Linked DNA regions of Homo sapiens: all the other regions are linked to region 1. The links are contacts of gene promoters, found by promoter capture Hi-C in human tissues and cell types (Jung and others, 2019). All regions are on one chromosome and are shown on one strand. Each heading gives the region's core, a stretch centred on a gene start or on the middle of the fragment in contact. The rest is flanking DNA. Distances are from core to core; before and after follow the strand shown.

What was found. Contacts are between HindIII fragments. The study calls those that stand out against the background at their distance.
Region 2: a fragment that was not itself captured here is called in contact with the fragment with the promoter of FTCD in region 1 in 2 of the 25 tissues and cell types used here (lymphoblastoid cells and spleen).
Region 3: a fragment that was not itself captured here is called in contact with the fragment with the promoter of FTCD in region 1 in 2 of the 25 tissues and cell types used here (dorsolateral prefrontal cortex and lymphoblastoid cells).
Region 4: a contact is called between a fragment that was not itself captured here and the fragment with the promoter of FTCD in region 1, in 4 of the 25 tissues and cell types used here (dorsolateral prefrontal cortex, hippocampus, lymphoblastoid cells and 1 more).
Region 5: a contact is called between a fragment that was not itself captured here and the fragment with the promoter of FTCD in region 1, in 1 of the 25 tissues and cell types used here (lymphoblastoid cells).
Region 6: a contact is called between a fragment that was not itself captured here and the fragment with the promoter of FTCD in region 1, in 1 of the 25 tissues and cell types used here (lymphoblastoid cells).
Region 7: a contact is called between a fragment that was not itself captured here and the fragment with the promoter of FTCD in region 1, in 2 of the 25 tissues and cell types used here (lymphoblastoid cells and mesenchymal stem cells).

What each region holds. Positions count from the first base shown.
Region 1 is chr21:46,153,705-46,157,811 of GRCh38, forward strand. It overlaps FTCD (formimidoyltransferase cyclodeaminase), which reads right to left and starts at 1,875. Exons shown (of 14, transcript NM_206965.2): 1 at 1,766-1,875; 2 at 445-628. The coding sequence starts at 1,819. RefSeq lists enhancers at 1-240, 241-944, 945-1,648. The HindIII fragment of the contact is 26,017 bases long and covers 1-4,107 here.
Region 2 is chr21:46,659,120-46,663,226 of GRCh38, forward strand. PRMT2 (protein arginine methyltransferase 2) reads left to right here. Exons shown (of 12, transcript NM_206962.4): 9 at 1,714-1,843; 10 at 2,681-2,817. Among named protein-coding and RNA genes, the nearest start is that of PRMT2, 25 kb to the left of the region's middle. RefSeq lists a silencer at 2,177-2,286 and an enhancer at 2,387-2,436. The HindIII fragment of the contact is 3,202 bases long and covers 850-4,051 here.
Region 3 is chr21:46,638,308-46,641,057 of GRCh38, forward strand. The region is part of intron 3 of PRMT2 (protein arginine methyltransferase 2); the gene reads left to right. Among named protein-coding and RNA genes, the nearest start is that of PRMT2, 4.0 kb to the left of the region's middle. The HindIII fragment of the contact is 4,299 bases long and covers 1-2,750 here.
Region 4 is chr21:46,615,473-46,619,579 of GRCh38, forward strand. No RefSeq gene overlaps it. Among named protein-coding and RNA genes, the nearest start is that of S100B, 12 kb to the left of the region's middle. The HindIII fragment of the contact is 3,662 bases long and covers 1,027-4,107 here.
Region 5 is chr21:46,516,983-46,521,089 of GRCh38, forward strand. The region is part of intron 8 of DIP2A (disco interacting protein 2 homolog A); the gene reads left to right. Among named protein-coding and RNA genes, the nearest start is that of DIP2A-IT1, 57 kb to the left of the region's middle. The HindIII fragment of the contact is 7,528 bases long and covers 1-4,107 here.
Region 6 is chr21:46,499,349-46,503,455 of GRCh38, forward strand. The region is part of intron 5 of DIP2A (disco interacting protein 2 homolog A); the gene reads left to right. Among named protein-coding and RNA genes, the nearest start is that of DIP2A-IT1, 39 kb to the left of the region's middle. RefSeq lists an enhancer at 1,084-1,223. The HindIII fragment of the contact is 5,234 bases long and covers 1-4,107 here.
Region 7 is chr21:46,477,388-46,481,494 of GRCh38, forward strand. The region is part of intron 1 of DIP2A (disco interacting protein 2 homolog A); the gene reads left to right. Among named protein-coding and RNA genes, the nearest start is that of DIP2A-IT1, 17 kb to the left of the region's middle. The HindIII fragment of the contact is 3,471 bases long and covers 266-3,736 here.

The sequences.
Region 1 (4,107 bases), core at 625-3,124:
CGCCCGTGTGTCCACACACCTTTGGCCCTGCCTGCCCACCGAGGTGTTTGGCTTGTGGGCTGTTGACAGGTCAGCTTCCAGGCAGCCCTTCCCCCACCAGTGCCTGCTCCAAGACTGGCTCTCAGCCCCCTTGACGAGTGGGCAGGTGGACGGGGCCCACAAACCTTCCCCGGCGTGGCCCCCTCCCCCCACCCAGCCGTGAAGGTGGCCCGGTGCTGTGGGAGCGTGGCGACCTGGGGGTCCCCCAGAGCACAGCCCTGCAGGCAGGATGGGGGCCATGACCCCCACACTCCAGGGTCCTCCTAGGAGAGCCAGAGCCAGCCCCACTGGACCCCACGTTCCAAGCCTGGGCCCCGGGCCTACCCCCTCTCCCAGGACACCAGGACAGGGCTCGGCCCTGACATTCTGAGACACGGCAGCCACAGGAGAGCCCAGAGACCTCACCTTGGTGCCTGCTCATGTCGATAAGTCGGGAAGCTACCCGGGCAGCGTTGAGGGCCCCCTCCACCACGCACTCCGGCGGCCCCACGAAGGTGTACACGGTGCGGTTGGTGGAAGGGCCTGCGTCCACATCCAGCAGCACGCAGCCCGGGGTCTGTGTGATGGCTCCAGAGATGGCGTCGATCACCTGGGACACAGGCCCGGCCCCCACACCTCAGTCTCCCCGTTTGAAAGAAGGAAAAGGAGCTTGGAGGTGGCTGCACCCCGAGACACAAATGGGGGCTGAGGAGGCGGGCCAAGCCTTTGGGGGCTCTCCGACAAGCTGAGCTCCCACCGAAAGTGCCCGCACACAGCGGCCGCCCGGGAACCCTCACAGCAGCCACAGTCACTCCAGCCCAAGCACAGTCCCCACAAGGGGCTGCAGGTGGTGCCTCCAGGAGAGACTCACGGGCTCTGCTCCGACAGACAGATGCCAGAGACGTGGCCGGGGATCCAAGAAGGTGACCACAGGCGCAGGTCACAGAGGGGCCGGGACCCCCACCCCCGAGCAGGGGAGGGACAGATCACCAGCATGGGGGAGGGGCCTGAAGGGCCTAGAACCTTCCGGGTGGCAGGACTGCTGGGAGCAGGGGCTCAGCCCCAAATCTTGCCCTGTCCCAGGGCCTTGGTGCTGGCTGGAATCCCGGCATGACGAGGCCTCCCTGCACCCCTGCGGGTGACCCCTGTGGCCTGGTGCTGCGCTCTGGGAGGCCTTCCAGGTGGCCCTTAGGGCCTGCGTTTGTTCCCGGAGGAGCCTGGACCTCAGGGCTGTGGAAGGCGAGAGGCCGGACCTGGGGGCCTGCTGCCCCCTCTGTGCCTACTTCGTTTTGGGTCCAGTGAGGATGGTGGCTGCAGGGTGGGGGCTCAGCAAGCTAACTCCAGTGGAGATGGAGAGGCGGCAGTGGGGACCATGCTGGGCCACCTCGTGTGGCCTCACACAGCCCTTTCAGTCAGTGGCAGGAGCCCCATTTTCAGGGGGGAGCACCAAGGCCCTTTGAGGCCCAGAGATCTGCCCAACCCCCCACCGAAAGCACCCGAAAGGCCCCTGAAGCCACAGCCAAGCCTCAGCCCCCACAAGCACCAGTCGTGTTCCACCCACCCCTGGGTCAGGCACTCCCCAGGGCCCTGAGCCACGGGATGTCCTTGGGGCCCACGGGCAGCGGCTCTGCCCATCCTGGGAAGACGACCCGGGACACCAAGCCCACCACCTCCTCCATGGCCTGGGCCTTAGCCACTCAAGCTGCCCCATCAGCCCTAGATGCTTGACCAGCTCCTCGGGCCTCACCTCCTGGTTCTTCCCCTCCGAAAAGTTGGGGACGCATTCCACCAGCTGGGACATGGCCAGCACCTTGATCCAGATGCTCCTCTCTGGGCAGATGGAAGGACAGGGCCAGTGCTCCGCAGCCGCCGCCAGGGCCTTTATACGCTCACCGGCAGCACCTCCCCACCGGCTTCTCATTAACCAGCAAGGCACAAGGAGCAGTGGGGCCAAGGTCCCTGTGCAGCCGCGGAGTGGGGTGCTGCAGAGCCACCCCGGGTGCTGTTGACCCAGAGGGGATGGCTCCACTCAGCCAGAGTGTGGGTTCCCGGAAAAGAAGCACATGCCAGGGTGAAGGGGCATGTGCCGAGGACCCCCAGGAGCATCAGGCCAGCCTGGCTGGAATCCTGTCGTGACGAGGCCTCCCTGTGCCACTGCGGGTGACCCTCGTGACCCTGTGCTGCCTTCTGGGAGGCCTTCCAGGCAGCCCGTGGGGCCTGCGTTTGTTCCTGGAGGAGCCTGGACCCCTGGGGCTGTGGAGGGCGAGAGGCCAGCATGAGGCCCTGGCTCGCAGCACCCAACTGAGGTCAGCTCAGCTCAGACAGGAGAGTGCAGGGGAGCACGCGTGTGAGAGTGAGTGAGGATACACGTGAGGGCAGGGCAGGGGAACACGTGAGAGTGCAGATACACGTGAGCACAAGGCAGGGGAGCACATGTGTGAGAGCGTGGATACATGTGAGCACAGGACAGGGGAACACGTGTGAGAGTGAGCGAGGATACATGTGAGTGTGGGGTAGGGGAGCACACGTGTGAGAGTGCAGGTACACGTGAGCATGGGGCAGGGGAAGCAAGCATGTGAGAGTGAGTGCAGATACATGTGAGCGCAGGGCAGGGGAACACGCGTGTGAGAGTGCAGATACACACGAGACGGGCATGTGCGATATGGGGGAAGGCAGCTGAGACCCCAGCTCTCCCCAGCTGCTGCTCCCCTGACTACAGGCTCCCCACGAAGTCAGCGGCACCAGGGCCGTGCTCAGAAGGGAGAACTCCTGTCTCCACGTTCAGCCGCTGCCCACTTGCAGTGCTTTTATCATTTTCTCTTTTTTTTTTTTTTGAGACAAAGTCTCACTCTGTCAGCCAGGCTGGAGTGCAGCGGCACAATCATGGCTTCCTGCAGCCTTGGTCCCCAGGCTCAAGAGGTCCTTTCACCTTAGCCTCCTGAGCATCTGGGCCACAGGCACACACCACTACACTGGCTAACTTTTCCATTTTTGGTAGACATGGTGATATGGTTTGGCTGTGTCCCCACCTAAATCTCATCTTGAATTGTAGAGCCCATAGTTCCCACGTCATGGGAGGGACCCGGTGGGAGGTCACTGAATCACGGGGGCGGCTTTTTCCGGTGCTGTTTTTGTGATAGTGAATGGTCTCACGAGATCCGATGGTTTTATAAAGGGCAGTTCCCCTGCACACACCCTCTTGTAAGACGTGACTTTGCTCCTCTTTCACCTTCCACCATGATTGTGGAACTGTTGAGTCCATTAAACTGCTTTTTCTTTAAAAATTACCCAGTCTTGCGTATGTCTTTATCAGACAAATACACATGAGGTCTCACCACGTTGCCCAGGCTGGTCTCAAACTCCTGGGCTCAAGCGATCCTCCTGCCTCGGCCTCCCAAAGTGCTGGAATTACAAGTGTGAGCCACTGAGCCCAGCCCCACTTGAAGTTCTTTTTTTTTTTTTTTTTTTTTTTTGAGACAGGGTCTCGCTCTGTCGCCCAGGCTGGAGTGCAGTGGTGCGATCTTGGCTCACTGCAAGCTCTGCCTCCCGGGTTCACGCCATTCTCCTGCCTCAGCCTCCAGAGTAGCTGGGACTACAGGCACCCGCTACCACACCCAGCTAATTTTTTGTATTTTTAGTAGAGATGGGGTTTCACCATGTTGGCCAGGATGGTCTCGATCTCTTGACCTCATGATCCACCCACCTCGGTCTCCCAAAGTGCTGGGATTACAGGCGTGAGCCACCCACTTGAAGTTCTTAATGGAACCCCAACCATGTGGGCCTTAGGGACCCCACCTCCGTGGCTACTCAGGGGGACTGGGATGAGACAGGAGCCAGGTAAGCCCAGAAACCTTCAGAGGCTGGGAGCACACAGAGTTCCCCAGCCAGGGCTCCACGTCTGGAGGCTGGGAGTGGGGGATGGGGTCAGGGATCTGTGTCTGGAGGGAGACCAGGAGGGGAGGATGGGGTCAGAGCTCTGTGGAGCCTCAAGGGGAGGATGGAGTCAGGGATCCATGTCTGGAGGCCAGGAGGGGAGGATGGGGTCTGTTGAGGGCCGCACTGCATTCCCTCGAGAAACCATCTGCTGAA
Region 2 (4,107 bases), core at 1,201-3,700, 510 kb after region 1:
GTAGAATGCAAGGAACAAAAATTTTCGTATGTGAAAAAGGTGGCATTACGATTAGGAGGGAGTGAGGGCCAAGTCAGCAAATTATTCTGGAGCAGTTGATTAGCCCTTGTTCTCTCACGCCATACGTGAAAACTTAATTCTGCATGGAATCAGCGTCAGCGACAGACATCCATGGGGGCCTGTGTGCACCATCTTAGGTGGAGAAATGAGCAGCAACAATGGATGGAATGGACCCTGGGCTAGATAGAATCTGGCAGTCTATGTGGCAGAAATCAGCAAAAACACGATTGTAAAAGCAAACAAGTAATTAGAGAAATCACGTGCTGTCAGGTCTTGGAATCAATTAGAAAGAGATGACTAGCCAGATGGAATTGCAGCCCAATCATGTGAACAGGCAAACCGCAAAAAATAAATAAAATTACCAATAAATATATGAAAAATTATAATGTTGTTAGTAGTTAAAATGCGAATTAAAATACATGCTGTTTTCCCTACCAGACAAGCAAAGAGTAAATTAAAATAGTAGCCCAGGCTTGCCTGGCAGTGGCAGGGAGGTGTGGCTGCCAGGGCCTTAGAGGTTGGCATCAGGCTGCCCACCCCAGTCACTGCCAGAGCCTCCCACCTGAGTGTTCCTCCCGGCACTGGAAGCCAGTGGCCGTCCAGAGGAACGTGATTGAATTGCTGTATATCCATCTGGTGGAGCACTGCTGTGTGTCTGTTAAAAAAGAAACCATAGGTTTTTAGGGATATGTAATGATATTTAGAAAGGGTTTAAGAGACAGTAAAGCTTGGCAGAATAAACCGTGTATACAGAATGGATGTTTGCTTGCATAAATAAATTTATATAAATATGTCTGGGGGATAAAAATAAGTATATCACAATGCTAAGACAGGCATATGGGGAATTTAAGCTTTTCTTTATACTTGTCCATAGTTTCCAATTTTTAAATTTGTAATTTTTTATCAGAAAAATAAATGTGTAAATATAGTGGAATCTTTATTAAAACATTCACTTTTATTTGCTATTTCAGAAGTTACTGCTTTGCTTATTTTTTACAACATTTCTGTGGTAAATAATCGGTGACTTACAAGCCTAGTGCAGCCAGTGATGGGGGTTGGCAAACGGTGACATGCAGGGGCCATGCGGCGTCTAGTGTCTGTTTCTGTGTTGAATTTGTGTAGCAACAGAGCAAGTATTTCTCCTGAAACTCAGACTCACTCAGGCCACCTCAGCCCTTCTAGTTCCTTTCGTTTATTATAGAGTAACCTACAGCAGGAATACCGCGTTCATTTACTGTTAATAGAAGATCCACAAAAGATTTTGAAATCAAATACATTCTAAAACTAGGCAAGACACGCTGCAACTCCCCTTGTCCTCTGGGTTATGAGGGGTGAGCGTTGGTTTCCGTGTGCTCAGATCCCATGAATGAGACCTCACAGGGAAGCGCCCAGTGACTGGCAGGCTCCTTAATGCCTCCAGGTCAGGCTCAGGAAGTCTCTGGATGCCTGGGTAGAGTCTGGGTCTTCTCAGAGCGGGAGGCACCCAGGGCCTGTGGAGGCCTGAGGGCTGCTCTGGGGTTCCAGGGCCCCAGATAGTGGCTTAGCATCCTGGTGACACAGAAGGGAGAGCACTCACCGCGGTCCCACGTGTGTGTTTTGAAGCCTAAGATGTTTGCAATGACTCTCAACAGTCGCTTTGACCTTTTCCCCTAGATCTTTAGCAGTTAAGGAGTTTTTTTCAAAGCCCAAGTATAACCACATTTTGAAACCAGAAGACTGTCTCTCTGAACCGTGCACTATATTGCAGTTGGACATGAGAACCGTGCAAATTTCTGATCTAGAGGTGAGAAAAAGATGAATTGCTCCTTACATTCGATAATCAGTGACCACGAAACACTCAGACCAGAGCCTGGCTTATCAAAAACCTTCAGTGAGTGCTGGGGGTGTGAGTGAATAACTAATTATTTTATTATGCAAATAAGTGAATTTATAAAACGTTTGCTACTGATTTTTTCCAGTCTTTTTTCTTTTTTACGTTCTATTTTGATTCTTTCATATTGTACACCATTTTATGTCTCCAGCGTCTTCATTTTAGATTTATGTTTAATATTCTCAGCATCTTCAAAATCAAATAAATTATATTTCGTTTCATTATGGTATTTGCATTACAGTTTTTTTCAAGTATTTTAAGCCACTCTTCATGACAGAATCGTTAGAATTCCCTCCGTGAATCCCTGTCTGTGGCCGCGCGGTGGCGCTCGTGGGCTCTGGGCGGTTTCCCCGCGCCCCCGCCCTGCCTGGCGCCCCAGCTGGCGCCGCGTCTGGAGATGGGGCGGGCGCGGTGGCGCCGGCGCGCTTTGGTTTTTAGTTCGTTCTGCTGTGGAAAGGCCCAGCCTGGAGCTCTCCAACTCCTTAACTGGAAGAGCTGAGCGCCGAAAAGATTCCGCAGAATCTGGGGTAGAAAATTGGGCGCAAGAAGCTCAGATGCTTGAAACGTTTCTGACTGAAGCCTCTGAACTCACGATGCGGGTTTTGGGGGTGGTTTCCCCAGGCTGGGGGGCTTTTCTACGGTTCCTGACGCATTCAGCGTCTGCGCGGGGCGCGTGGAGGGGGCCGCCCCAACCCGGGCCCTGCGGTGCCACGCGGTGCCCACGCGTGCCTTGTCATCTGCTTGACCCAGACCCTGAGGGGCGAGCTGCGCTTCGACATCAGGAAGGCGGGGACCCTGCACGGCTTCACGGCCTGGTTTAGCGTCCACTTCCAGAGCCTGCAGGAGGGGCAGCCGCCGCAGGTGCTCAGCACCGGGCCCTTCCACCCGTGAGTGTGCGGGGCGCGGGCACGGGGTGCGGGGTGGGGGGCAGGGGAGTAGGCGGGGTGCGGGGATGGGGCGCGCAGGAGGGGGTGGGACGCGGCGTGGCGGTCGTGGGGGGGTGGGGCACGTGGGGGCGCGGGCAGTGGGGTGGGGGCGGCGCGCATGGGGGCACGGGTGGTGTAGACACCGCAGCCTGTGTGCCCCCTTCCGGGTCTCGCCACCACTCTGGGCCCAGCCTGGGCGTCCCTCCGACAACAGCCCCAACGGGAGGAGCTCCCTGTCTTCCACCCCGCGAGGAGCACCACAGCTCTTCATGGTCTGACCCAAAGCGCCTCCACGGGGCGTCGGGGTTCACCTGACGTTTTTGGAGGTGCCTGTTTTTTGGGACACATTTCCCCGCCAGCACCCTGGGCATGTGTGGCAGTGGAGCTGCCTTCAGGGCCCTGCAGGCCTTCCCTTTGGGTGGGGTTGGCTACCCCGCTCTGGCACCTGCCCCGCTGACTTCCCAGCGTGGTGGCCCCGCGAGGGGACCCCGGCTCCAGGGAGGTCGCAGAGGTGCGGGGTTGATGGCCTGGCCTGGCATGTGGTCCCCATCACAAGAGTCCTGTGGTGGCCCCTCCAGTGCCATCACCGGGTGGAGGTGGGCAGCTTGGAGGCCAGTTATACCCATCCCCGAGTCTGGGGGCGTGGAGGGGGCAGTGACCTGGGGCACAGGCTGGGGTGAGGGGTGTGACCAGAGTCAGGGAAAAACTGGAGACCTGAGGAGCCCCCCACTTCACTGCTGGCCCCACCGTGGACAGTGGGAGTTTGAGGGAAGACAGAGCCTGAGGAACTTAGAGATGTTTCCAACGCAACCCAGTGCAGAATCATAGCGTTTTACTATTTCCCCCCAAATGTGACAGTTGTCCTCACCTTGTAACCTTCACAGAAGCGACTCCTTGGACCTGATTCTGTCTGTGTACACCACAGTTTAACAGCAGGAGCTAGATCACCAGCCTCTGCAGCTTAGGCAAGGGTGCAGGAAGGGGTTGCACAGCCGTCCTCCTGGCGGGCCGGGGAGTCGACACCACACGGGACCTTTAGTGCAGCTGTGTGTCCCCTGAGCTCCCGCATCCTCTGGGCCACCCAGGGTGAGCCGTCCACACCTCCTGGAATCTGAGTGGTCTCAGGAGCAAGCTTGTGTTTGGCATTGGCAGGATCTGTCTCACTAGCGTAACTTTGATCCCAGTGTATCCCATAGAGTCCCTTTAGATCACAGGGCTGGGGGTGTATATGTTCCCTGAGTTAGCCTGAAA
Region 3 (2,750 bases), core at 251-2,750, 480 kb after region 1:
AAGTGTAAAGTATCCTATTTGTAGATATGTGTATGGGCCTGTTGCAGTCTCACTGCTACACAGTAGGCATATACCCCATTTTACTTATTCCCTTTTTGTTGGACACTTAAATTGTTTCTAGTTTTTTCTATTTCAAACAATGCTGTAGTGACCATCCGTCTCCATGCCTCTGTGCTCCAGTAATGGCATTGCAGGGTGCAAGGGATTGCAAGTTTCAGTTTTACTGGATAATGATCAGTTGTTCCCCACAATGACTTTACGAGTTCACAGGTCTGTCAGTAGCCCACAATAGTGCTTACTAACACTTGACAGTATCAGACTTTTAAGTTTTGGTCAGTCTCATGGGTTAGAAATGGTATTTTGTTATTTCAATTTTGCTGACTGGTCATGGTAGTATTTCAGTAATACTTGTGTTCATCCTGTTAATACCACCCTCCATTATAGAAGAGATGTCTTATAATGGTAATTTGTGTTTTATCTCTTTTTTTCACACTTGATCAATCTTTTCTTAGGGTTTTATCAATTTTATTTTTATAAAGAACCAATTTTATCTGTGTTGATTTCTCTGTTTTTCTATTTCATTGATTTCTGCTTTTGTCTTTATTTCATTCTGTTGTATTTGGGTTAATTTTTATAACATCTGAGAGGGAAGCTTAGATAATTGATTTTAAACCTTTCTTTAATAGTCTTTAAAGCTATGACTTTCCTCTAATCACTGCTGTAGCTGTACCTCACATATTTAAATGCATTTTCATTCTTCAAAATATTTTCTAATATATTCAATGGAAATTAGAAGTTTTCTGGGCTATTTGAAAGTATGTTGACCAATTTCTAAACATATTGGAAATTTTACTTTTTCTTATTTAATTTTGCTTTGATTACATTGGTTAGAGAACATAACATCCTCTATAATTTCAGTCTTTTGAAATTTATTCAGGCTTGCTTTATGTTCTAATCATATGGAATATGTTGGTGAGTGTTCCATGAGTACTTGCAAAGACTATGTATTCTGCAGTTGTTGAGTGTAGCATTCTATAAATGTCATGAAGATCAAATGTGTTATTAGTATTGTTGAAATCTCTATATCTTTTCTGATTTTTTTTGCCATCTTCTATCAGTTACTAAAAATTCTCCACTATGATTGTAGATATATCTATTTTTCCTTTTGGTTCTATCACTTTTTGCTTTGTATATTTTGAGTCCCTGTTATTGGGTGTATATATTTAGTATAGGTTTTGTTTTCTAGATTAATTGACCTTATTTTTTATAAAACATCTGTCTTTTTACCTGTTAATAAATACTTCTTTTCTTGCGTGTACCTTTTTTTTAATGCTAATATAGCTGTACCAGCTTTTTTTTTTTATCATTAGTGCTTACATAAAGTGTGTGTGTGTGTGTGTTTGTGTGTGTGTGTGTGTGTATTTTTTTTCCCTCAACTTAAGTCCTTATATTTAAAGCGTTTTTCTCGTAAAGAGCTAGTTGGGTCTAGCTCTTAGGTCTGTTTTTTTGTTTCTCTGTTAAACACAATTTCTGCCTCTTAATTGGAGTATTTAGTCTATTAACACTTCATGTTATGACGAATGTGATGAAGTGTAACATTTTGCTGTTTGTTTTATGTTTGTCACATTTCTTTTTCCTGCATGTCTCCATTCCTGCCCTCTTGTGGATAAATAAAGGATTTTCTATAATTCCATATTACCTCCTTTAATAGCTTGTTAGCTGTATCTTTTTATATTGTTTTAGTGTTTTCCCAAGAAATTGCAGTATGCATCCTAATTCAATTTCAGTCTTTTTTTTAACTACTTCATAAGGTAAAGATCTTAGAAGTTAGTTTCATTTACCAGCGTCCATATTTTTGTACTGTTGATGTAACATTTTAATTTTACATATGTTGTAAACGCCACAATAAATTATCATTATTGCTTTACGCTATCGAGTCTTTTTTTATGAAGTAAAATAAATAGTCTTTTTTATGTTTCCCCACATATTATTTGCCTTTTTTGAGGTCTTTCCCTTTTTCTTGCATTCTGTGTTTTCATGTAGGATCATTTCCCTTCAACCTGACAACTTTATGTTTATATTTACTAGTGTGAGTCTGCTGTGTCAAACTATGAAATGTGTTTTGCCTACATTTTTTTTTTTTTTTTTTTTTGAGACGGAGTCTCGCTCTGTCGCCCAGGCTGGAGTGCAGTGATGCGATCTCGGCTCACTGCAAGCTCCGCCTCCTGGGTTCACACCATTCTCCTGCCTCAGCCTCCCGAGTAGCTGGGACTACAGGTGACCACCACCACGCCCGGCTAATTTTTTGTATTTTTAGTAGAGACGGGGTTTCACCATCTTGGCCAGGCTGGTCTCAAACTTCTGATCTCAGGTGATCTGCCCACCTTGGCCTTGATGGTTTTTTTTTTTTAATTTTGGAAAAATCTCCACCATTATCTCTTCATTTATTTTTTTCTGCCTCATCTTCTGTCTTCTTTTTTGGGGTCTCCATGTAAACATAAGTTAGAATTTTTGCTGCTGTTTGACATGTCTCATGCTCTATTCTTATTTTTTTTTTCATTTTGTGCTTCAGTTTGGAAAATTTCTGTTGACCTGACTCTTGAGGCGCTGATCATAAACAAGATAACTGGGAAAACAATATGTTTGTAAAACAATTTCTTGAGATGTGAAATAGTATCTATATTGTACCAAGAGTAGTCCCAGCTACTTGAGAGGCTGAGGTAGGAGGATTGCTTTAGCTTGGGAGGTGG
Region 4 (4,107 bases), core at 1,608-4,107, 460 kb after region 1:
GATCTTTTGGATGGTTTTTTGTGTCTCAGTCTCCTTCAGTTCAGCTCTGATTTTGGTTATATCTTGTCTTCTGCTAGTTTTGGGGTTGATTTGCTCTTGGTTCTCTAGTTCTTTTAGTTGCGGTGTTAGGTTGTTTGATTGCAAGCATTCTAACTTTTTGATGTGGACATTTATTGCTAAAAATTTCCCTCTTAACACTGCCTTAGCTGTGTCCAAGAGAGTCTAGTATGTTGTACCTTTGTTTTTATTAGTTTCAAAGAACTTCTTGATTTCTGCCTTAATTTCTTTATTTACCCAAAGGTCATTCAGGAGCAGGTTATTCAATTTTCATATAATTGCATGGTTTTGAGCAATTTTCTTTCTTTCTTTTTCTTTTTTTGAGATGGAGTTTTAGTCCATCACCCAGGCTGGAGTGCAGAGAGGCAATCTCGGCTCACTGCAACCTCCACCTCCTGGGTTCAAGCAATCTTCCCACCTCAGCCTCCTGAGTAGCTGGGATTACAGGCATGTGCCACCATACCTGGCTCATTTTTGTATTTTTAGTAGAGACAGGGTTTCACCATGTTGGACAGGCTGGTCTTAAACTTTTGACCTAAAGTGATCCATCCGCCTCAGCTTCCCAAAGTGTTGAGATTATAGGCGTAAGCCACCCCACCTGGCCTTGAGCAATTTTCTTGTGCTGTGGTCCAAGAGAGTGGTTGTTATGATTTTAGTTCTTTTGCACTTGCTGAGGAGTGTTTTATGTCTTATTATGTGGTTGATTTTAGAGTATGTGCATGTGGTGATGACAAGAATGTCTATTCTGTTGCTTTAGGGTGGAGAGTTCTGTAGATGTCTATCAGGTCCATTTACTCCAGTGCTGAGTTTAGGTCCTGAATATCTTTGGTAATTTTCTGCCTCAATGATCTGTCTAGTACTGTCAGCAGGGTGTTGAAGTCTCCCACTATTATTGTGTGGGAGTGTTAAGTCTCTTTGAAGTGCTCTAAGAACTTGCTTTATGAATCTGGGTGCTCCTGTGCTTGGTATAGATATGTGTGTGTGTGTGTGTGTATATATATATATATATATATATATTTAGGATAGTTAGGTCTTCCTGTTGAACTGAACCCTTTAGCATTTTGTATGCCCTTCTTTGTCTTTTTTGAGTTTTGTTGGTTTAAAATCTTTTTTGCCTGAAATTAGGATTGCAACTCCTACTTTTTTCAGTTTTCCATTTGCTTGGTAGATTTTTACCCATCCCTTTATTTTGAGCCAGTGGGTGTCACTGCATGTGAGATGGGTTTCTTGATGACAGCATACTATTGGGTCTTGGTTCTTTATTGAGCTTGCCACTCTGAGTCCTTTAAGTGGGGATTTAGCCCATTTACATTCAAGGTTAGTATTAATATGTGTGGATTTGATCCTGTCATCATGATGTTAGCTTAGACCTGAGTTTCTAAAATATCATTTTTCCTTTCTCTGGAGAACTTCTTTTAACATTTCTTCAGATTTATTAGCAACAATGTTTGTTTGTCTTAGAAAGTCTATTTCTCCTTTACTTTTGAAGGACAGTTTTGCAGACCGCAGAATTCTAGGTTGGTGGGTGTATTAGTCTGTTCTTACACTGCTAATAAAGACATACCTGAGACTGGGTAATTTATAAAGGAAAGAGGTTTAATTGACTCACAGTTTAGCATGGCTGGGGAGGCCTCAGGAAACTTACAACCATGGCAGAAGGGGAAGCAAACACATCCTTCTTCACATGGAGGCAGCAAGGAGAAGTGCCGAACAAAAGAGGAAAAAGCCCCTTATAAAACCTTCAGATCTCATGAGAACTCACTCACTATCTTGAGAACAGCAGCGTGGAGGTAACTGCCCCCTATGATTTAATTACTTCCCACCAGGTCCTTCCCATGACACATGGGGATTACAATACAAGATGAGATATGGGTGGGAACACAGCCAAACCATATCAGAGGGTTTATTTTTACAACACTTTAAATATAACCATGTGTCATGTAACAACATTTTGGTCAATGGCAGATTGCATATGCGATGGTAGCCTCATAGATTATAATGGAACTGAAAAATTTCTATTGCCTAGTGATGTTGTAGCCATCAAAACATTGTAGTGCAATGCATTACTCATGTGTCTGTGGTTATAGTGGTATAAACAAACCTACTGTGCTACCAGTCACATAAAAGTATAGTACATCAAATTATGTACGATACGTAATACTTGACAATGATCATAAATGACCATCTTACTGGTTTATGTATTTACTATACAATACATTTTATTATTTTAGATGGTACTCTTTCTATCTATCTATCTATCTATCTATCTATCTATCTATCTATCTATCATCTATCTATCTATCTATGTAAAGTTAGTTAACAGTTAGTTACCAGTAAAATAGCCTCGAGCAGGTCCTTTGGGACATATTCTAGAACAAGGTGCCGTTATCATAGAGAATGACAGCTCCATATGTCTCATTGTCCTTGAAGACCTTCCAGGGGGAAAAGATGTGATGTAGAGGTGGAAGACAGTGATATTGATGGTTCTGACCTGTGTAGGCTTAGGCTAATGTGTTTGTGTTTCAGTTAAAAAAAGAGTTTAAAAAGTAAAAAATTTAAAAATTGTTAAAAATGGAAACAAGCTTATAGATTAAAGATATAAAGAAAGAAAATATTTTTGTATAGCTATACGATGTGTTTGTATTTTAAGCTAAGTGTTATTACAAATGAGTCAATGAGAAAAAAAGTTTATAAAGTAAATAAGTTATGGTAAGCTAAGTTTAATTTATTATTGAAGAAAGAATAATTTTGTTTTGTTTTTGTTTTTGTGACAGAGTCTTGCTCAGTTGCCCAGGCTGGAGTGCAGTGGTGCAATCTTGGCTCACTACAACCTCCACCTCCCAAATTCAAGCGATTCTCCTGCCTCAGCCTCCCAAGCAGCTGGGATTACAAGCATGCGCAACCAAACCTGGCTAATTTTTGTATTTTTAGTAGAGACGGGGTTTGACCATGTTGGCCAGTCTGGTCTCGAACTCCTGACCTCAAGTGATCCACCCACCTCGGCCTCCCAAAGTGCTGAGATTACAGACTTAAACCACCATGCCCGGCAAGGATATTTTAAATATTTTAAAATAAATTTAATGTATGACTGGCTGCAGAGGCTTAAGCTTCTAATCCTAGCACCTTGGGAGGCCGAGGCAGGAAGATTGCTTGAGTTCAGAACAGCCTGGAGTTCAAGAACAGCCTGGGCAATGCAGCGAGACCTTGTCTCTAAAATAAATAAATAAATAAATTTAGCACAGCTTAAGTGTACAGTGCTTATAAGCCTACAGTAGAGTACAGTGGTGCTTATAAGTCTGCAGTAGAGTACAGTAATGCTTGCAAGCCTACAGTAGAGTACAGAAATGCTTATAAGTCTGCAGTAGAGTACAGTAATGTCCTGGGCATTCACACTCACTCACCACTCAAGCACTAACTCACCCAGAACAACTTCCAGTTCTGCAAACTCTGTTCATCGTAAATGCCTTATATGGGTATATCATTAAAAATCTTTTATATCATATTTTTACTGTACTGTTTCTATGTTTAGACATAAAAATACTTACTATTGTGTTTCATTGCCTACGGTATCCAGTAGTAACATATTGGACAAGTTTGTAACCTAGAAGCAACAGGCTGTATCATACAGCCTAGGTATATAGCAGGCTGTACCAGCTAGGTTTGTGTAACTGCACTGTATGATGTTTGCGTAAGGACAAAATTGCCTAATGAAACATTTCTCAGTATGTATCCCCATCATTAAGTGATATATGACTCTATTTCATTCCATCTTCTTCTCGCTTGCATAGTTTTTCAGGAGAAGTTAGATGTAATTTTTATCTTGCTTCTCTATGGTAACGTGTTTATTTTCTCTGGTTTCTTTTGAGATTTTTCCTTTAACTATGATTTTGTGAAGCTTGAATGTGATATGCCTAGTTTTGGGGGAAGGGCATTTATCCTATTTGTGTTCTCTGAGCTTCCTGGAGCTGTGATTTGGTGTCTCACATTAATCTTGGGGAAATTCTCAGTCATTATTGCTTCACATATTGCTTCTGTTCCTTTCTCTCTTTC
Region 5 (4,107 bases), core at 1,021-3,520, 360 kb after region 1:
AAGTCTTTGTTAGCTAACACCAATATCTGTATCACCTTTGGGTCTGTTGCTCTTGTCTGTGTTTTCTCTCTCTTTTTTTTTTTTTTTTTTTTTTTTTTTGAGACAGAGTCTTGCTCTGTTGCCCACACTGGAGTGCAGTGGTGATCACAACTCACTGCAGCCTTGACTTCTTGGGCTCAAGAGGTCCTCCCACCACAGCCTCCTGAGTAGCTGGGACTACAGGTGCACAGCACTACGCCCAGCTAATTTTTTCTTTCTTTCTTATTTTCTTTTTTTTATAGAGATGGGGTTTCACTGTGTTGTCCAGGCTGGTCTTGAACTCCTGGGCTCAAGTGACCTGCCTGCCTCAGCCTCCCAAAGTGCTGGATTACAGGCGTGAGCCACCATGCCTGGCCTTTTTGATTGAATATTGTATGTTGTGTATAAAAACATTATGGCAGGTCCAGACAATGCCATCTTCCTTAAGAGAAACCTCTTTCCCCTCCAAGTAGAGTAGTGGCTGGCTGGTCGCTGCAGTCCAGTCATGCCTGGCCCAGCCGGCCTTTGCTCTCCTCTGGCTCTCCTGGGCTTTCTGCCAGTGCCTGGTGTGTCCATGTGTCTCTTTCCTCTGATGGCTTCCCAGCCGTGGCGTTGGTCTCCTCGTGGCTTCTTAACAACCCCATTCTGCTTTTCAGAGGTTTTCCACATGGGCTCTTGGTCTCCTGCTGCACACAGCCAGAGGATTCAGCACATGTCCTGCAGGAGGTGGCTGTGCTCTCGAGACTCCTAGCCTCTACCAAAAGCTCTGCAGGTTTCTTCATGTCCTGGTGGGACTGCTCCAGGTGGATACTCAGCCCCCCGTGGGGGCTGGAATCCCTGAACATGGACAGCGTAAAGACAGCTGCAGCTCAGCTCACTTTCCGGAGGGTTTTCCCTCTCTGGAATCTTAACTCCTCTAGTTGTCTTTGCTGAGCAGCAACTTGCTGCCTCCAAAAGATCATTTCTGCATTTTATTCAGTTTTTAAACTCATCTTAGGCAGGAGTGCTGGTCTGCCACCAGTACCCTCTCCTACTCGGAAGCAGAGTCTTCCACCATTGTGCTTTTAAAATTCATCCATGTTATTGCGGGTAGTTGTAATTCATTTATTTCTGTTGAGGAATGAATATATCAGAATTTACTTAAGCATTATGCTGTTGCTGGAATACATGGGCTGTATCCAGTTTTAGCTACTAGAAACAGTGCTCCCAGGAAGATTCTGGTGTGTGCCACGTGGTAGCTAAGCATATGTTTCTGAAGGTTGAGTACTTAGGAGTGGAAGTACTAGGTCTAGGGTTATGGGCACCTTCACATTGCTGAGATGGCATCACCGTTCTCCAGTTCACCCTTGGCCCATCAGTGTGGGTGGGCCCTACCTGCTCCCCATCATTATCAGCACTTGGTATTGTCAGGCTTATGAATTTTAGCTACTCTCGTGAGAATATGGTGGTATTTCATTGTGGTTTTAATGTGCATTTTACTGATAACTAAATAGATTGAGATCTTTCCTGTCATTTTAACTTGCTCTTTTGTTAAGTACCCCTTGAATCTTTTACACATTTTTTCTGTAGTGAACGGCTGGGCACGGTGGCTTACATCTATACTCCCAGCACTTTGGGAGGCTGAGATGGGTGAATCACTTGAGGCTAGGAGTTTGAGACCAGCCTGGCCAACATGGCAAAAGCCTGTCTCTACTAAAAATACAAAAATCAGCCGGGTGTGGTGGCATGCGCCTATAGTCCCAGCTACTCGGGAGGCTGAGGCATGAGAATTGCTTGAACCCAGGAGGTGGAGGTTACAGTGAGCCAAGATTGCACCGCTGCACTGCAGCCTAAGTGACAGAGCGAGACCCTGTCTCAAGAAGTATATGTAAATAAAATGAAAACAAGTTTATTAAGAAAGCAAAGGAATAAAAGAATGGCTACTCCATAGGCAGACCAGCAGCTTGGGCTGCTGGACTAAGAATACTTAGAGTTATTTCTTGACTATATGCTAAACAAGGGGTGGATTATTCATAAATTTTCTGGGAAAGGGGTGGGCAGTTTCTGGAACTGAGGGTTCCTCCCATTTTAGACCATCTAGGATAACTTCCTGACGTTGCCATGGCTGCTGTAAACTGTCATGGCACTGGTGGGAGTGTCTTTTAGCATGCCAATCATTGTAAGTAGTATATAATGAGCAGTGAGTTCAACCAGAGGTCACTTACATTGCCATCTTCATTTGCGGGGACTTGGCCAGCTTCTTCACCACACATGCTGTTTTATCAGTAAGGTCTTTATGACCTGTATCTTGTGCCGACCTCCTATCTCATCCTGTGACTTAGAATGCCTAACTTCTGGGGGTGCAGCCCAGCAGATCTCAGCCTTATTTTACCTAGCCCCTATTCAAGATGGAGTTGCTCTGGTTTAAACGCCTCTGACATATTTCCCCTCTCTGTTTTATGAGAGAAGCCTTAATTCTAAAGGTTGTAGAGGGACAAAGATTCATCTTCTATAACTTCTTCAGGCTGAACAGGAGTGATGACATTCCTGCCTAACTATTAGGGTCTTTTATATTTGAGAAAGAAAGGAGCTAAGTCAGAAAGCATCAGTATGGTGAGGGCCATTCATAACGCCAAGAAAATTTGGTATCTGGAAGATTAATAAGTGTTCAGTTTAAGAAAACATTGAGTAAGCTTATCCTGCATTCCTACACAGAGTACAACAGCAATATATTCCACAACAGTAAAACAAAATAAGTAAAATTATCCCAAGTAAATTAAATAGGGATTTTCATGAACTGGGTAACTGTTGGAACTAAGATGATATGGGATTGCTAGCTGATTCCAGTGTGCCCAGAATTAGAATATTGATCTAGATTTTTTTTTTTTTTTTTTTTTTTTTTTTTTTTTTTTTGAGATGGAGTCTTGCTCTGCTGCTCAGGCTGGAGTGCAGTGGTGCGATCTCGGCTCACTGCAAGCTCCGCCTCCAGGGTTCACGCCATTCTCCTGCCTCAGCCTCCCAAGTAGCTGGGACTACAGGCACCCGCCACCACGCCCGGCTAATGTTTTGTATTTTTAGTAGAGACGGGGTTTCACCATGTTAGCCAGGACGGTCTCGATCTCCTGACCTTGTGATACACCCATCTCGGCCTCCTCAAGTGCTGGGATTACAGGCATGAGCCACCGCACCCAGCCTGATCCAGATTTTTACATTACCCATCTCTCTTGTTTCTCTCTACTTTACTCAATTGTTAAAAGCTGTAAATAGCTCAAAAGAGAAGTTTTCTTGGCTCTGAAAAACAAAACAAAGAATCAGCAACAATTTAAGCAAAAAGTCAAAACAAGTTACTTCTGTTTTCTACTGGTTCTATTAGTCCTATTAGTTCAGCTCATGTCAAAACAAGTTACTTCTGTCTTCTATTAGTTCTGTTAGTCCTATTAGTTCAGCTCATGCAGTTAACTCCTGTTCGATATTCATGAACATTTTGGCTCTCCATGAGAGTCCTGAAAGTTTTTCCTCTATTCTAATGTCGCAACCTCCAAAGTTATCAGAAACCTGCATTCAAAAACACCTGTTAGAGTTCTCTAGTTGATTATAAAACCACCTTCTAAAGAGGACCCAAACAAGACAACAATTTTGTATGGATGACAGAATGCCTTAGGGCAGCCTCTACAAAAGCCACAATTGACTAGGAATTTTGATTACTTCTGTGACATGGAACAATTTAACATACCAATTATATTAATAACATGTACTGTCATATCAGAGTTATAGAAGTTTCACACGATTTTGGAACACAAACCAATAACATATTTATACAAATATAGCCCAAAGAAAGCCACGCATCATTTCATATCTGACAGTGCTTGCTGTGTGATTTTTATACCAAATAAGCTGAATATGTCATTTTTTGGACTTGAGAGGACCTAATATCTAAAAGATTAATTAGGTCAGGAAAAGGCAGAATTTAGAGTATGATGTTGGAAAGTTTGTCAAATATTAAAGGTTTAAACGCTTGATATTACAAAATAGAATCCCAGGTCACCATAAGTCATTCATTTACCCAAAATGATAACTCAAAAATTTTTAAAAGGCAAAATCCTTTACTCA
Region 6 (4,107 bases), core at 1,076-3,575, 350 kb after region 1:
GTAGATGGTCAGCACACATCCATACCTGCTGGTGGCTGTGATCATCACCCTTGACCTGGCCGCCTCTCTGTTGTCTGTGCCTTTCCTCTTGGCTATGTGTTCACAGCTGCAGGCCCATTGGTTGTCTCTGTACCTGGCTGGAATTCTGAGGTTGGGGTAGAGGGCTTTCGCTCCTCCAGATACCAGGTTAGACAGCCTTTGGCCTGAAAAGGTGTCAGTCAGAGCTAATCATATGATGCATGGATCTTTCCCAAATCATGGAATCCTTTAAATTACATTCATCTTAGAGATGAAAAAAGTGTAAACCTTTCATCCTTTGAAATTCTATTTTTTAACTAAAACAGCAGCATAGTTAGCTGTATGTAGCTGGCATGTGAAACCCACATACACTCTTGCACAAGTACCTTAAAATACAATCAGTATTGTTGAAGACTCATCTTAATCCCCTCCTTTTTTTCCCAGATGAGGAAGGAAGAAAAAAAAGTCCAGCGATTGTAACTTGCTTGAGATCAGACAGCAGCCTTAAGTGGTGAAGCCAGGGCTGATACCAGTTTTCTTGATTCCTATTCATTTTCTTTGCTTTTTGTTGCTTTTCTGCCAAAACTGAAAGGTGACACCTGTGACACGCTGGTGTTTGTGCTGGGGTCCCCATGGGTGCCGAGCTCTTTTTTGTAAGACCTCGGTCATTTGGCTGGACTGGGGGCAAGTTGGGTATGTTGGGTGGCCCACAGCTTCTGTCTCATCATCCTCTGTAGTGTGCATCACTGTTGCTCTTCATGTTTTTGTTTGTTTGAGTCAGCACATCTCTTGTGTTTCCATTGAACATGTGTCCTTCTTCTGAGGCGTCCGTCTCAGATGAAAGCTCACAGTGCCCTGCTCTGTCTCCACACTGCTTCCAGCTCATAAAGGAACTGCCAAGACTACAAGGGTAGCAGCAGGCAGCATTTTCCACAGAGAAAGTTTCTCTTAGGAAAACAGCCTGCTCAGATTGTTTCTGTAGCTTTCCTGGGTGTTCCATGGCCAGAGGCTGCTGCCCACCTTTCCTCAAGGTGGTGTACAGTCCATATCTTGAAAACAGCTTTTGCACTGTTGTTTGCCTTCTCTGTTCATCGTTGGTGATTTAACTTTGTAGAAATACATAGTTAACTCCAATTCTGAGGCAGGGGCAGGAAAACAGTAGTTTTAAATGTTCTGTTACCTCATTTCTTCTCCCAGAAGCTCCTTTCTAGGTGAGATGGTGCAGGAGAGCAAACAAAACATTTGTAGTTTGAGTTTATTAGCCATTGCTGAGTCATCTCAACACTGTTTCCGGGTGGGTTAGAAATAAAAGCTTATTCAGCATGAAAAATTAGCCACAGTTCAGAATGTTTAACCGTACAGCCCTCAACTTTCCAGTGATTGTGGGGTGTCTTTAAGCAAAGCATTGAACTCTAATGTGTGTTTGAATTAGATGTTTTCATTCTCTGAAAAGGACTTGGCTGCAATTATTTATAATGTAGGTTTATTACCTATGTTGGTGGAAGACAGCTCCTGACTCCTGCAGATGCAGCTGTAATCATCTCTTCCTTTCTTGTTAGTCCTAGCATCAACATTTTGTGATCAATTCTAATACATTTAAAAAAAATTCTTAACTTGGACTTGATTTAATACTTTGCTTACAGGATTGCAATTTTCTACAGATTGTAGCTACCCACATCCTAAATGTTGGACATAGTTAATTTGAATTTCTAAATCTCAAAAATACTCAACTTCCCTCTTATGACAGAAATCATCCTTTGTTTTAGTTTCTAACACTAGATGTGTCTTCAATTTAAACTAAGGAAAGAAACATGAAAAGAGGAAGAATATATTAAGTAAAAAATTCGAGGTAGAACATATCAGGTAAAGATAATTTTTAAAAATATATCACTTTCAGTTTTGGATTAAGGAAATCAAATACATTAAGCCTTTTTTATACAAATGTAAATACCTATTTTTAAAAGCAGTACTTTTAATTATAGTAGCTTCTTTTAATTATAGTAGCTTATTTTTATTTTGAATGTAGTTTATGTTTATTTTTATGCAGCTTTTTTTTTTATTTTTCCACCTAGAGACAGGGTCTTGCTCTGTCACCCACGCTGGAGTACAGTGGCATGATCATAGGTCACTGCAGCCTTGAACTCCTGGGCTTAAGAAATTCTCCCACCTTAGCCTCCTGAGCAGCTGGGACTATAGGCAAATGCCAGCATGCCTAGCTAATTTTTAAAAATTTTTTGGAAAGATGGAGTTTTTACTGTGTTGCCCAGACTGGGCTTGAACTCCTGGGCTCAAGTGATCCTCATGCCTTGGCCTTTCAAAATGTTAGGATTATAGGAATGAGCCACTGCTCCCAGCCATTATATAGCTGTTTTAAAAAACTACTTGTAGTACATGTATGTATACCATGTATACCTTTTTTTCCATATATACTTTTAAAATCATTTATTCTTTTTGCTAGATTTGGAAGAGTGGGGAAATTTCTTTTTAAACTAAAAGAACCTCCTGATAGACATACTTTAAAATGCTAATTTGATCAGCATCAGGCTTTTTCAAGGGTTGTGAAAAATCTTAACGGTTTAGATTTTTTCAAAAGGTATATTCTGCTATGCAGACAGTGAGTTTGTGCTTTCATATACTTCAGCTTTCTACAAACCTAGTAAAAAGTTACTGCTTTACATTGTACCTAGGAGTACCACAGTGATACTAACAGGTACCTTCATTAAAATATTAAACATTACCAGTTGTCTCTACCTAACATAGACTAGTGTTTATTTATTTATTTTTTTGGAGATAAGATCTCACTCTGTGGCCCGGGCTAGAGTGCAGCGGTATGGTCCTAGCTCACTGTAACCTGGAACTTCTGGGCTCCAGTGGTCCTTTCACCTCAGCCTCCTAAGTAGCTGGGACCACAGGTGTCCACCACCATGCCCAGCTAATTTTTTTTTTTAAGAGATGGGAGCTCACTATGTTGCCCAGGCTGATCTCAAATTCCTGGGCTCAAGTGATCCTCCTGCCTCAGCCTCCCAAAGTGCTGGGATTATAAGTGTGAGCCACTGCACAGCTAGTGTTGATTTTTTTTTTTTTTTTTTTTTTTTTTTTGTGACAGGGTCTCACTCTGTCCCCCAGGCTGGAGTGCAGTGGTGCAATCTTGGCTCACTGCAACCTCCACCTCCCGGGTTCAAGCGATTCTCCTGCCTCAGCCTCCCGAGTAGCTGGGATTACAGGCATGCACCACCACGCCTGGATAATTTTTGTATTTTTAGTAGAGACAGGGTTTCACCGTGTTGGCCAGGCCATTCTCGAACTCCTGACCTCAGCTGATCTGCCCGCCTTGACCTTCCAAATTGCTGGGATTACAGGTGTGAGCTACCATGTTGGCCCCTATGTTGATTCTTATAAATGGGCGAGCATCTGTGTATTCATTGTTGTGGTAGAACACAATTTCTATAGTCATATAGACACAGTGCCTTTCCTAGTGGTAGACCCAATTATAACCATAATTCCTATAGGAACTTACAGTCAGCCAGCATTCTGAACAGATAGATGGACTGTACCATGGAAATAAAACACAAAAATGTACATTCAGACAATGGAAGGAGTGACTTTTACATATGTTCCAGATCTAATGTCTGTTTTTAAATGTTACACCAATTCTACTTTAAGAACTTGATTGTGGCCAGGCGCGGTGGATCACACCTGTAATCCCAGCACTTCAGGAGGCCGAGGTGGTTGGATCACTTGAGTCCAGGAGTTCAAGACCAGCTTGGCCAATATGGTGAAAACCCGTCTCTACTAAAAATACAAAAATTGGCTGGGTGTGGTGGCACATGCCTGTAATCCCAGCTACTTGGGGGACTGAGACAGGAGAATTGCTTGAACTCAGGAGGCAGAGGTTGCAGTGAGCCAAGATTGTGCCACTGCACTCCAGTCTGGGCAGTGATAAAGTGAGACTCCATCTCAAAAAAAAAAAAAAAAAAGGAACTTGATTGTGGTCTCTTAGTTTTGCAGCTGTTTTAACTGGCAGTGGGGGAAGTTTTAATTTCTGTAGTTTTATTCTTTTAGGACTGCAAAGGTTTGGTGTCCAACATA
Region 7 (4,107 bases), core at 751-3,250, 320 kb after region 1:
GTGGTGGCAGGCGCCTGTAATCCCAGCTACTTGGGAGGCTGAGACAGGAGAATTGCTTGAACCCAGGAGGGTCAGGTTGCAGTGAGCTGAGATTGCGCCACTGCACTCCAGCCTGGGTGACAGGGTGAGACTCCGCCTAAAATAAAAAAAAAGATTTGTGTGTGTGTGTGTGTGTGTGTGTATTTCTTTTTTTTTTTTTTTCTTGAGTCAGAGTCTTGTCCTGTCGCCCAGGCTGGAGTACAGTGCCACTATCTCGGCTCACTGCAACCTCCGCCTCCCTGGTTCAAGTGATTCTCCTGCCTCAGCCTCCTGAGTAGCTGGGATTACAGGAACGCACCATCACACCCAGCTAATTTTTTTGTTTTGTTTTTTTTTTGGTAGAGGCAGGGTTTTGCCATGTTGGCCAGGCTGGTCACGAATTCCTGACCTCAGGTGATCCACCTGCCTTGGCCTCCCAAAGTGTTGGGATACAGGCGTGAGCCACCACGCCCGGCCATCTTTCACATTTAGATGCGTAATTCACCTGGAATTTAATTTCATGCGTGGTGTGAGGGAAGAGTGATTTCATTTCTATTGCAGTTGGGTAATCAGTTGACTCAGAACATTTGGAAGAGGCTATCCTTCCCCTGCTGCTTCGGACTGATTTCTGCTGTGTTGTTCTACTTGCTTATCTTAGCACCTGCTCCATTCTGTCTTCATATCTGGTAAAGTCTGCCCTTTTAATTTTATTTTGTTTTTCAAGCTTGATTTAGCTAATCTTGGCCCTTTGTATTTCCCTATATACTTTGGAATCAGCTTGTCAATTTCTATGCAAGAAACTTTCAAGAATTTTTTTTTTTTTTGAGAGGGAGTTTCGCTCTTGTTGCCCAGGCTGGAGTGCAATGGCGCGATCCCGGCTCACAGCAACCTCCGCCTCCTGGGTTCAAGCCATTCTCCTGCCTCAGCCTCCCGAGTAGCTGGGATTACAGGCATGTGCCACCATGCTTGGCTAATTTTGTATTTTTAGTAGAGATAGGGTTTCTCCATGTTGGTCAGGCTGGTCTCGAACTCCGGACCTCAGGTGATCTGCCTGCCTCGGCCTCCCAAAGTGCTGGGATTACAGGCGTGAGCCACCACGCCTGGCAAAACTTTCAAGAATTACTCAGGCTGACTCTTGTGATCCACTTGGAGAGAAATTACACTTCACAGTATTGAGTCTTCAGATTCATGAATGTGGTATATCCTTTCATTTCTTTAGGTCTTTAATTTATCTCAGTAATGTTTTTATAATGTTGTTAGTTTCTGGGTAGTGGTCTTGCACACCTTTCATTAAATTTATTCCTGGATTTGAGATACAGTATTTTTCAGTCCTAGAATTTATGTTTTTTTTTTTAAATTCACAATCCTGCTTTTTAATTCCCTAAACATATTGATTATGGTTATTCTAAAGTTCCATTTTCTATAGCTTTCTATTATTGTTTCTCATGGATTTTAGTCATAGTTTCTTGCTGCCATATGTGCCTAATTACTTCTGATCAAATGCCAGACATTGTCTATATAGTGATCATTTGTGACCACAAAGGGCTTACTTTTGCATCTGGTAGGTAGATAGGTTGGGAATAGATGCAGTCCAAGATCACTTTAATCTATATAGAGAGAAAGTGATTTGAAACTGGCTCCAGTCCTTATGAGTGCTGCTCTATTTTTAGTTCATACCCAAGGTGTGGTCCTTCTGAGTCCCAACAAACAACCTGGGATGCTTTCCAGGGCACCTCGTCCGTGATGAGCTCCTGCCTCTCTGAGTCTGTCCAAGTTCCACTCAGTTCAGCTACTTGGTGATTACTTTTTGACTTCACTTGGCCCTCAGTTCTTCACTTCTGTAATGTCTTCAGATTTAAAGAAAAACTTTAATGTGATCTTTTTAGTTGTTCCCATTGGAAGAGTTGGTCTGAGTGCTATAATTTTGTCAGTGCCATAAATGGAGTTCCTATGTGTGTGTATGTATTCAGTTTAATGAACATATTTTTCATATTTTATTAAAAACTGAGATAAAATATTTACTACACATTTAAAAAGCCCGCTTTTAATTACAAATGAATGAGACAGTGGACATTCAAACACTGCTGTGGAAGCATATCTATACTCTTCAGCGTTAAGCATAATAATTTGCTTATTTTTTTTTAAGGTCTCATTCTGCTATTCAAGCTGGAGTGCAGTGGTGCGATCATAGCTCACCGCAGCCTCGAACTCCTGGGCTCAAGCAATCTTCTCACCTCAGCCTCCCTAGTAGCTTAGGACTATAGGCATGTGCCACCACAGCCAGCTAATTGGTTTTTTTTCTTTTTTTGTAGAGACAGGGTCTCTTTATGTTGCCCAAGGTGGCTTCTAACTCTTGGGCTCAAGCAGTCCTCCCACCTTGGCCTCCCAAAGTGCTGGGATTACAGATGTGAGCCACCATGCTTGGCTGCATAAATAATTTAAATTGCAGTCAGATAGGCTCTACTTTTGTGTATTAGATCTGTATATTTAAGACCCCTGTGTTTGGAAACTTTAAGGCTTGGAAAGTGAAATCTCTACGTGCTTATATTAAGAACGACTGTTACCAGTGAATGGTGCCACCGTGCAAAATATTACTCTTCACAGATTTTCCTCACCTTTTGTTCTGTGTCACGAGCTTGGAGACTGCCTGTATTTTTTTTTTTTTTTGTGTGGCATCTGTTTTCAAGTTTTATTATGGTCAGGTATTGTATTAGTCTGTTCTCATGCTGCTAACAAACACGTAACCGAGACTTGGTAATTTATAAAGGAAAGAGGTTTAATGGACACACAGTTCCACATGGCTGGGGAGGCCTCACAATCATGGCAGAAGATGAAGAAAGCAAAGGGACGTCCTACGTGGTGGCAGGCAAGAGGGCGTGTGCAGGGGAACTGTCCTTTTATAAAACCATCAGATCTTGTGAGACTTACTATCCGGAGAACAGCATGGGGAAAAACCTGCCCCCGTGATTCAGTTACCTCCCACTGGGTCCCTCCCATGACACGTGGGGATTATTACAATTCAAAGTGAGATTTGAGTGGGGAGGACACAGAGCCAGACCATATCAGGTGTGGATCATCCCTCATTTTATTGTTTCCTCCTGCTCTGTGTCGGCACCTCCAGTAGGACCTGTCTAGTCGTGGCAGCTGTGGGCTTTCCCAGCTGCCATGGCACAGAGACCTTGCCTTGGGATCCTGGGTAAGCTTGTGTGGCCCAAGTTGGGACCTAGTGGACTCTTTGGACCCGTTCTTTGGCAGCAAGGGAAAGGCCAATACCTTTCCAAAGGAATAAACACTGGCAGCTGTGTCCAGCTCACTTGGGTCCAAGGTCTCTGGTGTGTATCTGATTTCTGGCTGGTGCCCACCTTGGAGGCGGTAAAAGTGACCTGACCAAAGGCAGACTGTACTGTACTGGATTGGAACCTGCCGGGCCCTTGGGGCTCCCAGCCATTGTGTCATGCCCTGTTGGGGTGCTTCTTCCTTAGCCACACTTGGTCCATTGTGGAGTCACCCAGCTGCTAACTGCCTGAAGTACTTCTTTGTCAGACACTCCTTTCAGACTCCGGAAAGCTGATTTGCTTGAGCCCAGAAGTTGGAGGCTGCAGTAAGCTATGCCACTGCACTCCAGCCTAGGTGGCAGAGCGAGACCCTGACTCTAAAACATAATAAAAGACCAAACAAGAAAAAGAACAGCACCATCATCCCCAAACACTCCTCATATTATCCCTTTGCAGTCTCCCGGTCCCCCAGCTGATCTATTCCCTATCCTTATGGGTTTATCTTTTCCGAAATGTCATATAAATGGAATCATATAGCATGTAACCTTTCGAGAATGGCTTTCTTCTTTCAGCGTAATGTATTTTGAAATTTATTCACACTTTTGCAAGTATCAATAGTCTGTTCCTCTTTATTGCTGAGTAGTTTTCCATAGTATGGTTACGTCACAGTCTCTTCATTCACTTGACATCTGGGTTGTTTCTAGTTTTTTGGTGATTAAGAATAAAGTGGCTATAAACAATTGTGTACAGGTTTTTATGTGAACACAAGTTTTTACTTCTCTAGGGTAGATAATCAAGTGGAATTGCTGGGTCG